Regions from separate parts of the Homo sapiens genome. Here regions 2, 3 and 4 are each linked to region 1. Evidence: promoter capture Hi-C in human tissues and cell types (Jung and others, 2019). All regions are on one chromosome and are shown on one strand. Each heading gives the region's core, a stretch centred on a gene start or on the middle of the fragment in contact. The rest is flanking DNA. Distances are from core to core; before and after follow the strand shown.

Evidence for each region. Contacts are between HindIII fragments. The study calls those that stand out against the background at their distance.
Region 2: a fragment that was not itself captured here is called in contact with the fragment with the promoter of ARHGAP33 in region 1 in 1 of the 25 tissues and cell types used here (mesenchymal stem cells).
Region 3: a contact is called between a fragment that was not itself captured here and the fragment with the promoter of ARHGAP33 in region 1, in 1 of the 25 tissues and cell types used here (spleen).
Region 4: a contact is called between a fragment that was not itself captured here and the fragment with the promoter of ARHGAP33 in region 1, in 1 of the 25 tissues and cell types used here (thymus).

What each region holds. Positions count from the first base shown.
Region 1 is chr19:35,774,047-35,776,906 of GRCh38, forward strand. It overlaps ARHGAP33 (Rho GTPase activating protein 33), which reads left to right and starts at 1,518. Exons shown (of 21, transcript NM_001366178.1): 1 at 1,518-1,618. The coding sequence starts at 1,613. RefSeq lists an enhancer at 1,010-1,069 and a silencer at 1,300-1,779. The HindIII fragment of the contact is 39,613 bases long and covers 1-2,860 here.
Region 2 is chr19:35,965,602-35,968,668 of GRCh38, forward strand. No RefSeq gene overlaps it. Among named protein-coding and RNA genes, the nearest start is that of SDHAF1, 28 kb to the right of the region's middle. The HindIII fragment of the contact is 3,385 bases long and covers 1-3,057 here.
Region 3 is chr19:35,987,589-35,990,288 of GRCh38, forward strand. No RefSeq gene overlaps it. Among named protein-coding and RNA genes, the nearest start is that of SDHAF1, 6.2 kb to the right of the region's middle. The HindIII fragment of the contact is 5,281 bases long and covers 1-2,700 here.
Region 4 is chr19:35,602,768-35,605,601 of GRCh38, forward strand. No RefSeq gene overlaps it. Among named protein-coding and RNA genes, the nearest start is that of LINC01766, 6.3 kb to the left of the region's middle. The HindIII fragment of the contact is 5,357 bases long and covers 1-2,834 here.

The sequences.
Region 1 (2,860 bases), core at 268-2,767:
GCTCACAGCAAACTCTGCCACCTGGGTTCAACCCATTGTCTTGCCTCAGCCTCCCAGGTAGCTGGGATTACAGGCACGCCCGCCGCCACACCTGGCTAATTTTTGTATTTTTAGTAGAGACGGGGTTTCTCCATGCTGGCCATGCTGGTGTCGAACTCCTGACCTCAAGTGATCTGCCCGCCTCGGCCTCCCAAAGTGTTGGGATTACAGGCGTGAGCCACCACGCCTGGCCTAATATTCTATATTTTGTTTAATGTTAATTTTGTTCATTGTCTTCTCCCAGTAGCTTTTGAGCTCCAATGTGGGCAGGGTATATTTTCTCCTGGTTTGGTTGTTGATGTATGTACAAATTGATTAGAGTTTGAGTGAATGAATGAATGAATGAATGAATGAACAGACCAAGACCCTCTGAGATGAGAATTTGTTGAGGGCATGACTAAGGAGAGACCCTCCTGTGAAGGGCGTTATTACAGTGTTATCTGGGCATGCTCAGTATTAGCAGGCTCCATTGGGAATGGCTTTATGGGGGGCATAAGCATGATCTGGCATTTCCCCCTAAGCATTTTCCTAGAAAAAAAAAATCAAGGCTGGAGATTGGCCCGTAATAAGCAGTAGAAGGGGAAACAAGAAAATGTCCAGTGGGCAGGGGAGGCCAAATCGCAGAAAGCCTCGGGTTACGTCCTAGGCAAGGTATATGAGGCAACGAGAAACGTCCATGGGCGGAGCGTCCTCGGCATTATGTGAGCGGGGTCGGGATCAGGACTGAAAAGGTGAGACTTGGGACTGGGACTTTGAAAAGCTGCTTAAGGAACTGGGCACTGCTCTGAGGCCGTGGGAGAATCCAATTAAGACTATCAGGGGCTGGCTGGCGTGGTGGCTCACGCCTGTCATCCCAGCGCTTTGAAAGGAGGCTGAGGAGGGAGTATCTCTTGAGCCCCAGAGATCAAGACCATCCTGGGTAACATAGTGAGACCCCCATGTCTAAAAAAAATTAGCCAGGCGTGGTAGCGCACGCCTGTAGTCCCAGCTACATGGGAGGTATCGCTTGAGCCCAGGAGGTTGAGGCTGCAGTAAGCCACGATTGCAGGACTGCGCTCCAGCCTGGGCGACAGAGTGAGACCCTGTCTCTTAAAGAAATAAAAATAAAAAAGTCAGAAGAATGGACACTGGGAGTGGACGAAAGGTAGGGTCCATTGCTTGGTGTTGGAAGTGTCGGAAGCAAAGCATAAAGAACCTGGGGGCTTGTCTCAGGAGGGCGATGACAGCCAATGAAAAGCAGTCATGGGCGTGGCGCTGTCAAACTTCGAGGGGCGGGACCGAGGACACAGAGCCGGGGCGGAGCCCAAGGTGAAACCAATGAGAAGCCTCCGGGTGGGCGGGGCATCGGCCTAAGGCCAAGGGCGGAGCCAATGAGAAGCAGCGCCGCGTTCCCGCTGCCCCCCGCCCCCGTGGGGCGCGCGCCGGAGCCACGGGCAGCCGTTAGGGGCGGGGTCTGCAGCCGCCCGCGCGCGGCTCGCGCCCTCCCCTTTGTGTCGCCATGGCGGCGGCAGCGGCGACGAGAACGGCGAGCGAGGGGTCGAGCGCGGCCGGGGCCTGAGGAGGCTACGCGACCATGGTGGTAAGGGTCCCACGCGGCCGTCAGCCTGTCCGTCCGGATGTCAGTCTGTCCGTGCGCAGCCCCGCCCCGCGCGCCCCGCCCCCGGCCCCGCCCGATCCCGCGGCCTGTGCTTCAGCCGTGGTCCCTCCCGTCCTGCGGCCCCATCCCGGGTCCCAGCCCGTACCTCGACCCCGCCCCCTAAGCGCGCATCCCCGTCTTCCACGCCCTGGATGGGGTGACAGGGACCTAGGGCCTGGGCTGGGAGGAGGCGGGGCTAGTCCAGGAAGGGACCCGCGCCACCCAAGTGGCCCCTGCAGGGGCCTCCTGAGGCTCCTGGGTCCTTCCCCAGCTCCCATCCCAGCACCTTCCTCGGCATCCTTCTGCCAGCCCTCAGCCCTCCCCGGCGGAGCCCCCTCCTCCTCCCCACAGCCCCTTTCTCATTCCCGAGCCCCACCCCCCACCCGCTCCATCCCCAGCCTGACCCTTTTCTTCTCCTTCTCCCTCATTTTCACCCTATCCCAGTTCCTCTCAATCCCCCCCGCCCCGCATCAGTCTGAGCCTTTGCCTCGTCTCTCCAGCCACTCCTTCCTTACTCCACCCCAACAGGCCAGCACTGTACCTCCCTTGATCCTCGGGTCTGCTCCATCTCCTTGTCCTCATCCCCCTCCCCCACCATTTCCCTCTCCCACCATGCTGCTCCCGCTCATTCATCCATTCATTCCCTCACTTAGCAGACATTCACTGAGACCGCCTCTGTGCAGGCCCCACGCTCCAGGCACAGAGAGAGTCAGCTCCCATCCTGCCTTGGGGAACCTTATGGGCTGGAGGGGGACAGACCCTGAGGGTGAGACCCTGAGGGTGACTGGGGGTTGCAGGGACATGGAGCAGGGAGACGCTACAGCCCAGTGAATCTGTCTGGCAGCTGGTTAATTTATTCATCAGATTTTACCCAGTCCCTGCTGCGCGCGACTGGGCTGGCACTGGGGACCCAGAAAAGAATCAGGAACAATCATGTCTGAACACCAACTCAATGCCCAGCTCTATGCTGGGGAGCTCAGTCTGGGGCCCTCCTTCTGGGAGGCCGGTCATAGTCCAATGAGAGAGATGAACTTGTCACCACCAGTGCCATCTCAGAGTGATCAGAGCTGTGAAGGGAGAAGCTCTGGTCAAGGCATGGAACCTGGGATGGGGGAACCTCAGGGGATGGAGAGAGTCCAGAGGAGATGCCAGGTGCAGCCTGAAGGGTCAGGGAGAACTTCCTGG
Region 2 (3,067 bases), core at 115-2,614, 190 kb after region 1:
GACAGAGTGAGACTCTGTCTCAAAAAAAAAAAAAAAGTTCACTTTGTAGGTGGCTAGCTTCGTGCACTGATAGCAATGAATAAATAACATCCCTTCCTGGGAAGAAGGAAGGAATATATGTCTCCAGTTCCCCACAGCATACACACATGCGCACGCACACACGCGCACACACACACACACACACTCTCACATCCTACCCTCAAGTCTGCTTAATGTGGCAAGTTGAAGTCCTCGATGGCCAGAATCAATGCACCATACATTTGCACTGGCATAGAGATGCTCACATAATTGAATCTGGCTGTCTTCAGATGCAGCCTGTGCTCTCGAGCTCCCTACAGACCTATTCTACACCCAGGCCGTGCTGATCATTTTGTCCCTCAGTCCCACTCTTTTCTTTCTGCTGATACATACAGACCCAGTTTATTTTAAATTGGGAACACTGATAGCTTCTGAATGTTGAGTTTCCAGTGCCAGGGACCCTGGAGGCCCGGGGTATGAAGGCAGGTCGGGGATGAGGCTAAATTCCAGGATCCAATTATATTGCATCCTTCCCTCATCTCATCTCTAAATATTTTGACTGAGGAGGAAGTGAGCCCTTTCATAGAGTCCCATCCCCTCCTAGTCTTCCCTGGTGATGCCACTCCAGTTCCAGGTCTCCTGTGAGGGCCATACATGCTCTGATGGGACCACATGTCAGCTTGTGAAGCACAGACTTAAGTGTGTGGCTGGGCACAGTGGCTCACACTTGTAATCCCAGCACTTTGGAAGGCAGAGATGGGTGGATCACTTAAGCTCAGGAGTTGGAGACCACCATGGGCAAAATGGCAAAACCCTGACTCTACAAGAAATACAAAAATTAGCCAGGTGGCATGCACCTGTAGTCCCAGCTACTTAGGAGGCTGAGGTGGGAAGATGGCTTGAGTCCAGGAGGTGGAGGTTGCAGTGAGCTGAGATCGCACCACTGCACCTCAGCCTGGGCAACAGAGCCAGACCCTGCCTCAAAATAAAAAAGAAAAAGAAAAAAGAAAAAAACAAAAAACAAAAAAGTAATTTAAAATCTAAATAAATAAATAAATGAAAAAGGCCTAAATGTGTGCCCACCACTCAGGTCACATGTGAGTCTGAGACCTTGTCCAGTTCCAAGATGGCAGGACTCCAAAACACCGTCCATCTTCAGCTCTAAGACCATGGCAGTGGCTGCATCAGGACCAAACAACACACCTGAAGCTGAGCCAAGGCTTGTGCCTGTGCTCCTGGGGGGACCTGAGCCTGAACCTGTGGCCATGGCTCATCTGGGGCTTGCACAAGTGACCGTAAATGAACCCTGCCCTGAACCTGTAGCTGCAGCCGCACCAGTGCCTCGACTTGTGACTGTGAAAGAACCACTTCCTGCAACTCTGGCTGTAGCTGAACCAGCACCTATACCACCTACCAAACCCATAGCTAACCATTGTCTACAACCATGTCCAAAACCAAGACAGTATCTGTGTCTGGGTCAGAACTGTCTCATGGCCAAGCTGGGGCTCAAGGTGGTGACAGTGACTAAACCAAGCTTAAAGACTCTGGCTGTGGCAAAATTAGGACTTGACTGTAGCAAAGGACAAGGGGCCATCACAGGGGCTACCACCTGAGCCTCTGGGCTACCATACATCTAGACTTTTTTTCTTTCTTTCTTTCTTTTTTTTTTTTTTTTGAGAAGGAGTTTTGCTCTTGTTGCCCAGGCTGGAGTGCAATGGCACGATCTCGGCTCATTGCAACCTCTACCTCCCGGGTAGAGGTTCAAGCTTGAAGGTTCTACCTTCAAGCGATTCTCCTGCCTCAGCCTCCTGAGTAGCTGGGATTACAGGCATGTGCCATTACACCAGGCTAATTTTGTATTTTTAGTAGAGATGGGGTTTCTCCATGTTGGACAGGCTGGTCTTGAACTCCCAACCTCAGGTGATCCGCCCACCTCAGCCTTCCAAAATGCTGGGATTACAGGCATGAGCCACCGCACCCGGCCTGATTTCTTTTTTTTTTTAAAGACAGGGTCGGGCCTGGCGCAGTGGCTCATGTCTGTAATCCCAGCACTTTGGGAGGCCGAGATGGGCGGATCACAAGGTTAGCAGTTTGAGACCAGCTGGCCAATAATGGTGAAACCCCGTTTCTACTAAAAATACAAAAAAATTAGCCAGGCATGGTGGCGGGTCCCTGTAATCCCAGCTACTTGGGAGGCTGAGGCAAGAGAATTGCTTGAATTCGGGAGGTGGAGGTTGCAGTGAGCCGAGATTGCACCACTGCACTTCCAGCCTGGACGACAGAGCAAGACTCCATCTAAAAAAAAAAAAAAAAAAAAAAAAAGACAGGGTCTTGCCGTCACCCACACTGGAGTTCAATGTCACAGTCTCAGCTCCCTGTAGCCTCTGTCTCCCAAGCTCAAGCAATTCGCTTGCCTCAACCTCCCGAGTACCTGGGATTACAGGTGTGCACCACCACGCCTGGCTAATTTCTGTATTTTTAGAGACGGGGTGTCACCATGTTGGCCAGGCTGGTCCAAACTCCTGGCCTCAAGCGATCTGCTCACCTCAGCCTCCTAAAGTGCCGGGATCACAGACGTGAGCCGTCGTGCCTGGCCAGTATACATCTAGATTTTCAATGACCACTTGTTCCCCATGCCTGGGATCTGCACCTACATGCTGAGCTGATGCCCCTAGTCCCTCCTCAGCAGCCTCCCTGCCTCCTAACTGTGGGTCTCCTGTCCTGAAGGGAGGCAGCCCATGTGCTTTGTCACAGGGTGCATCTTTGGTATTACCATCACTGCTGTCAAGCACAAGTGTGGCCCTATCCAGATAAGAATCACAGTGTATGGGATCTTGGGAGACCCCATCCTTCTCTGTTCATCAATTTTGGGAGCTTTTTTTCTTTTTCGAGACAGGGTCTTGTTTAGTCACCCAGGCTGGAGTGCAATGGTGCCATCATAGCTCACTGTAGCCTCAATCTCCTGGGCTCAAGTGATCCTCCCACCTCAGCCTCCCAAGTAGCTAGGACCACAGGCACACACTACCATGCCTGGCTCTTTAAATTGTTT
Region 3 (2,700 bases), core at 175-2,674, 210 kb after region 1:
AGCCATGGTGGCGCCACTGCACTCCAGCCTAGGCAACAGAGCCAGACCTCGTCTCTAAAAGAATTAAATAAAATTAAAAAGTGTATGTCTTTAAAAGATAAGGGTGTTTAGGCCAGGCACGGTGGCTCACTCCAGTGATCCCAACCCTTTGGGAGGCCGAGGCGGGCAAATCACTTGAGGTCAGGAGTTCGAGGACAGCCTGGGCCAACATGGTGAAACCCTGTCTCTATTAAAAACACAAAAATTAGCCGGAAGTGGTGGTGCATGCCTGTAGTACCAGCTATTCAGGAGGCTGAGGCAGGAGAATTGCTTGAGCCCAGGAGGTGGAGGTTGCAGTGAGCCGAGATCGTGCCACTGCACTCCAGCCTGGGCAACAGAGCAAGAGTCTGTCTAAAAAAAATAAGAAAAAAGAAAAAAGACAAAAAAAAAGATAAGGGTGTTTAGCAGAGTCAGCTAGATGGTGGGGATGGAGTATAGGAAGGACAGGCATGACTGAGTAGAGACAAGATAAAGGGTTATGGCCTGGTGCGGTGGCCCACGCCTGTAATCCCAGCACTTTGGGAGGCCAAGGCAGGTGGATCACGAGGTCAGGCATTCAAGACCAGACTGGCCAAGATGGTGAAACCCCGTCTCTACTAAAAATACAAAAATTAGCTGGCCATGGTGGTGCGTGCCTGTAACCCCAGCTACTTGGGAGGCTGAGGCAGAGAACTGCTTGAACCTAGGAGGCGGAGGTTGCAGTGAGCCAAGATTGCGCCACTGCACTCCAGCCTAGGTGACAGAGTGAGACTCTGTCTCAAAAAAAAAAAAAAAAAAAAGGTAACAGGTTATTAGCAGGGTCGGGAAATGAATGATGGTAATCTAGACTCTTGATGGTTACAAAGCAGAGATAAGTGATCATTTAAGCAATAGAGAGAAGGTGGAATTGATACTTTGGTAAGTCATTCCTTTCCTCACCTAGAATGTTGAACACATATTACCAATGTGCTAGTGACTGGCTATGATGTTTTTTGTTTGGTTGGTTTTTGTTTTGTTTTGTTTTTGGAGACAGAATGTTACTCTGTCACCCAGGCTGGAGCATAGTCATGTGATCACAGCTCACTGCAGCCCCAAATTCCTGGGCTCAAGTGATCCCCCCGCTTCAGCTTCTGGAGTAGCTGTGACTACAGGCATGCCCCACCATGCCATCCTAATTTTTGTAGAGATGGGGTCTCAGTATGTTGCTCAGGCTGGTCTCAAACTTCTGGGCTCAAGGGATCCTCCTGCCTTAGCCTCCCAAAGTGCTGGGATTACAGATGTGAGCCAACATGCCCGGCCAATTTAGTGTTTTATTTAGTGCTTTTCATGTGCTCAGCACTGTTCTGAGGAATTTTCATGAACCATCTCATCTAATCCTTATTGCAACTGTATCAGTCAGCTAATGCTGCATAACAAACAACCTCAAAATCTTAGTGACTTAACCCCAGGCAGCTTCCTAACTCATGTGTCTGTGGGTTGGTTGGCATTGGCCGATCTTAGCAGGGGTCATGAAGCACTTACCATATGCCTAGCATAGGTACTCTTTTTTTTTTTTTTGAGATGGAGTCTCAGTCTGTCGCCCAGGCAGTGCAATGGCACCATCTTGGCTCACTGCAACCTCTGCCTCCCAGGTTCAAGCGATTCTTCTGCCTCAGCCTCCTGAGCAGCTGGGACTACAGGCCTGCACCACCACACCTGGCTAATTTTTGAGTTTTTAGTAGAGATGGGGTTTCTTCATGTTGGCCAAGATGGTCTCGAACTCCTGGCCTCAAGTGACCCGCCCACCTCAACCTCCCAAAGTGCTGGGATTACAGGCATGAGCCACCGCACCCAGCCTGAAGTAGGTACTCTTGTCCTTCCATGTTACAAACACAGAAACTGAAGTTCAGAAAGGCTAAGTCCCTTGTCCAAGTCTCACCCTCATTTGTGGCGCAATGAGGAGGGACATCCAGGTTTCAGGGAGGCATGGGAGCAGGTTCAGCCTCCTCAGCCCCAGTCCTGACCCCTTACCTCCCCTGCAGGTGGATGGTGAGCACTACTGGCTGCCCTGGGCACTGCCAGGGGGCTGGGGTTGGCCGCCTTGGAGGGCCACCATGCCATGGTGCACATGGCCTGTGGGCTGTATCTCATGTACACCTGGGGAAGCTCATGGTGCCTTCTGAATTCTAAGGCGAGCTGGCGGGGCTCCATGGGTCCTTTGGAGGCAATGTTGGCCTACTTGACCTGCCTCTGGATACCGTGTCCTGGTCCAAGGGCCTGATCACTATCCACTGCCCACTGACCCAGCCCAACCATGGCTTTCATGTCAGCTGCCCACATGACTTGCCCAGATCTTCAAAGCTCCCAAACTGTGTGGCCTCCTGCATGTGCCGGATGGCCCCTTTAACCACTGTGTGGCCCACATCAACAAGCCCTTCCTTAGTATATGCCTGCAGGATGCGTGTCATCCCAGTGGCCAGCACCGTGGTCTCTGTGACACTCTCACAGGCCATACTGCAGCAGCCAGGAGCCTGGGAACCCTGTGATGCCCTGGAGGGGCCCCAAGCATTGCCATAAGTGCTCTGGCTTGGTCTGGGGTGCAGGCAGGGCAGACTATGGGTTGGCTGGAAGAGCCCCTTCCCCTGGTGGGAGTCCAGGAAGAATTCCTAGCATAGGTGGAATTGGTGGAGGAGAATGTGTGGG
Region 4 (2,834 bases), core at 247-2,746, 170 kb before region 1:
GGACAGCCTGCCCAGATTCATGTATTCACATCGCAAGTCTAGTTCTGCCTACCAAGGGCGTTGGCTGTGCTACCTGACTCTGGAGACGTAGCAATGACTACTTCAAATTCAACTCAACCCCCTCAGAACATATAAATTGGGGTGAGAGACAGACATGCCACCAGACAGTGACAATCGGAGTGGTCCAATATATAATGGAAGAAAACTTGGGAAGGGTTACTAAAGAAACACTTGTTTAATGACACTCGTTACAGACAGTAAGGCGGGCCAGGCACAGTGGCTCATGCCTGTAATCTCAGCACTTTGGGAGGCCGAGGCGGGCGGATCACTTGAGCTTGGGAGTTCAAGACCAGCCTGGCCAACATGGTGAAACCTTGTCTCTACTAAAAATACAAAATTAGCCAGGCGTGGTGGTGTGCACCTGTAATCCCAGCTACTCAGGAGGCTGAGGCATGAGAATTGCTTGAACCTGGGAGGCAGAGGTTGCAGTGGTTCGAGATTGTGCCACTGCACTCCAACCTGTGGGACAGAGCAAAACTGACTCCATCTCAAAAAGAAAAAGACAGTAAGGCAGACTTTATTCAGGACCATTGCAATATGCAGAGGGAATACTGAGACAGGGGCCTGCACTGGAGGAGAAAGATGGGGCTCAACACTAAATACAGCATGAGCAAGTGGGAAGTCCTACCCAAGGAGCAGGGTAGGGGTCAGTGGATGGAAAATTAGTAAGAGAAAACATTGAGGGTAAGGGGGATTCTGACTAAACCAACCTAATAGGATTCTAGTTGAAGACAGGCCAGGGTGACCAGACATCACCAGGGGGATGGTGGAGGATGAGGAACCTGATCAGATGCCGAGGTGTATCAGATACAGAGGATGAGGGTTTCTAGCTAAACTGACGTAGAAGGGTTCTTTTGCTACAACTGGATTTTACAAAGAAGTGCACAGAAGGAGAAGGTTCAGATGCTTTTTTTTTTTTTTTTGAGATGGAGTCTCACTCTGTCACCCAGGCTGGAATGCAGTGGTGCAATCTTGGCTCACTACAGCTTCCGCCTCCCGTATTCAAGCCATTTTCCTGCCTCAGCCTCCTGAGTAGCTAGGATTACAGGTGCTCACCACCTCAACCAGCTAATTTTTTATAGTTTTAATAGAGATGGGGTTTCACCATGTTGGTGAGGCTGGTCTTGAACTCCTGACTTCGTGATATGCCCGCCTCGGCCTCTCAAAGTGCTGGAATTATAGGCGTGAGCCACCGTGCCCAGCCTTTCTTTTTTTTTTTTTTTTTTTTTTCTTTTCTTTTCTTTTTTTTTTTTTTTTGAGACGGGGTCTCGCTCTCTCACTCAGGCTGGAGTACAGTGGCATGATCTCGGCTCACTGCAACCTCTGCCTCCCAGGTTCAAGTGATTCTCCTGCCTCCACCTCCTGAGTAGCTGGGATTACATGCGCCTGCCGCCACGCCTGGCTAATTTTTTTATTTTTAGTAGAGATGGGATTTCATCATGTTGGCCAGGCTGGTCTTAAAACTCCTGACCCCAGGTGATCCACCTGCCTTGGCCTCCCAAAGTGTAGGAATTACAGGCGTGAGCCACCGCGCCTGGCCGCCCGGCTAATTTTTATATTTTTAGTAGAGCTGGGGTTCTCCATGTTGGCCAGGCTGGTCTCAAACTCCTGAGATCAGGTGATCCACCTGCCTCAGCCTCCCAAAGTCCTGGGATTACAGGCATGAGCCACTGGGCCCGGCCCAGGTTCAGAAGCCTGACTAAAGTTTGGCCAAGCAAAGAATCCTTGTCAGGAGGCTGTAAATAAGAGACCTGTGAGAAATAAAAATTGTCAGGTGTCTGAGCCCAAGCCTGCATGTATACATCCAGATGGCCTGAGGCAACTGAAGAACCACAAAAACAAGTGAAAATGGCCAGCTCCTGCCTTAACTGATGACATTACCTTGTGACATTCCTTCTCCTGGACAATAAGTCTCCGGAGCTCCCCACCGAGCACCTTGTGACCCCCGCCCCTGCCTGCAAGAGAACAACCCCCTTTAACTGTAATTTTCCACTACCTACCCAAATCCTATAAAACTGCCTCACTCCTATCTCCCTTTGCTGACTCCTTTTTCGGACTCAGTCCGCCTGCACCCAGGTGATTAAAAAGCTTTTACTGCTCACACAAAGCCTGTTTGATGGTCTCTTCACACGGACGCACGTGACAAAAATAAAATCCTAAGTCCGCCAACTGGCTGAATGAACACTGTCTTGGCCAAGGGGCCTACAGAGAAACACTAAAAGCTGAGTTCCTAGCCGTGACTGAACGGGTGGTCGGGCACACCTCATTCTACCTCCTCCCTTGCTGACTGCCATGAAGCTTTCTTCCCTAAGGGTTAAACAGAAACCAGCCCTATTGAAAGACTCATTCACTGCTAATTTCAACCAATGGCCTGAAATACATGGCTGCTCCTCCCTTTTGTGGTTTCAACATAACAACTGACCAGCATTCCTTCCTGATCAGAGGCCACCTAACCACGGGGTGTGGCTCTGGCCAGTCTACAGAGGCTGCACACAAAGGGCCTTTGTGTCCTCTGCATCACCTTTTGATGTATAGGGCCTAATTGTAATACATTTAAGTGTTAAGTCTCCACTCCAAAGTGAACATGGGGCCTGGCACGGTGGCTCACGCCTGTAATCCCAGCACTTTGGGAGGCCAAGGTGGGCGGATCACCTGAGGTCAGGAGTTTGAGACCAGCCTGGCCAACATGGTGAAACCCTGTCTCTACTAAAAATAAAAAAATTAGCCAGGCATGGTGATGGGTGCCTGTAATCCCAGCTACTCATGAGGCTGAG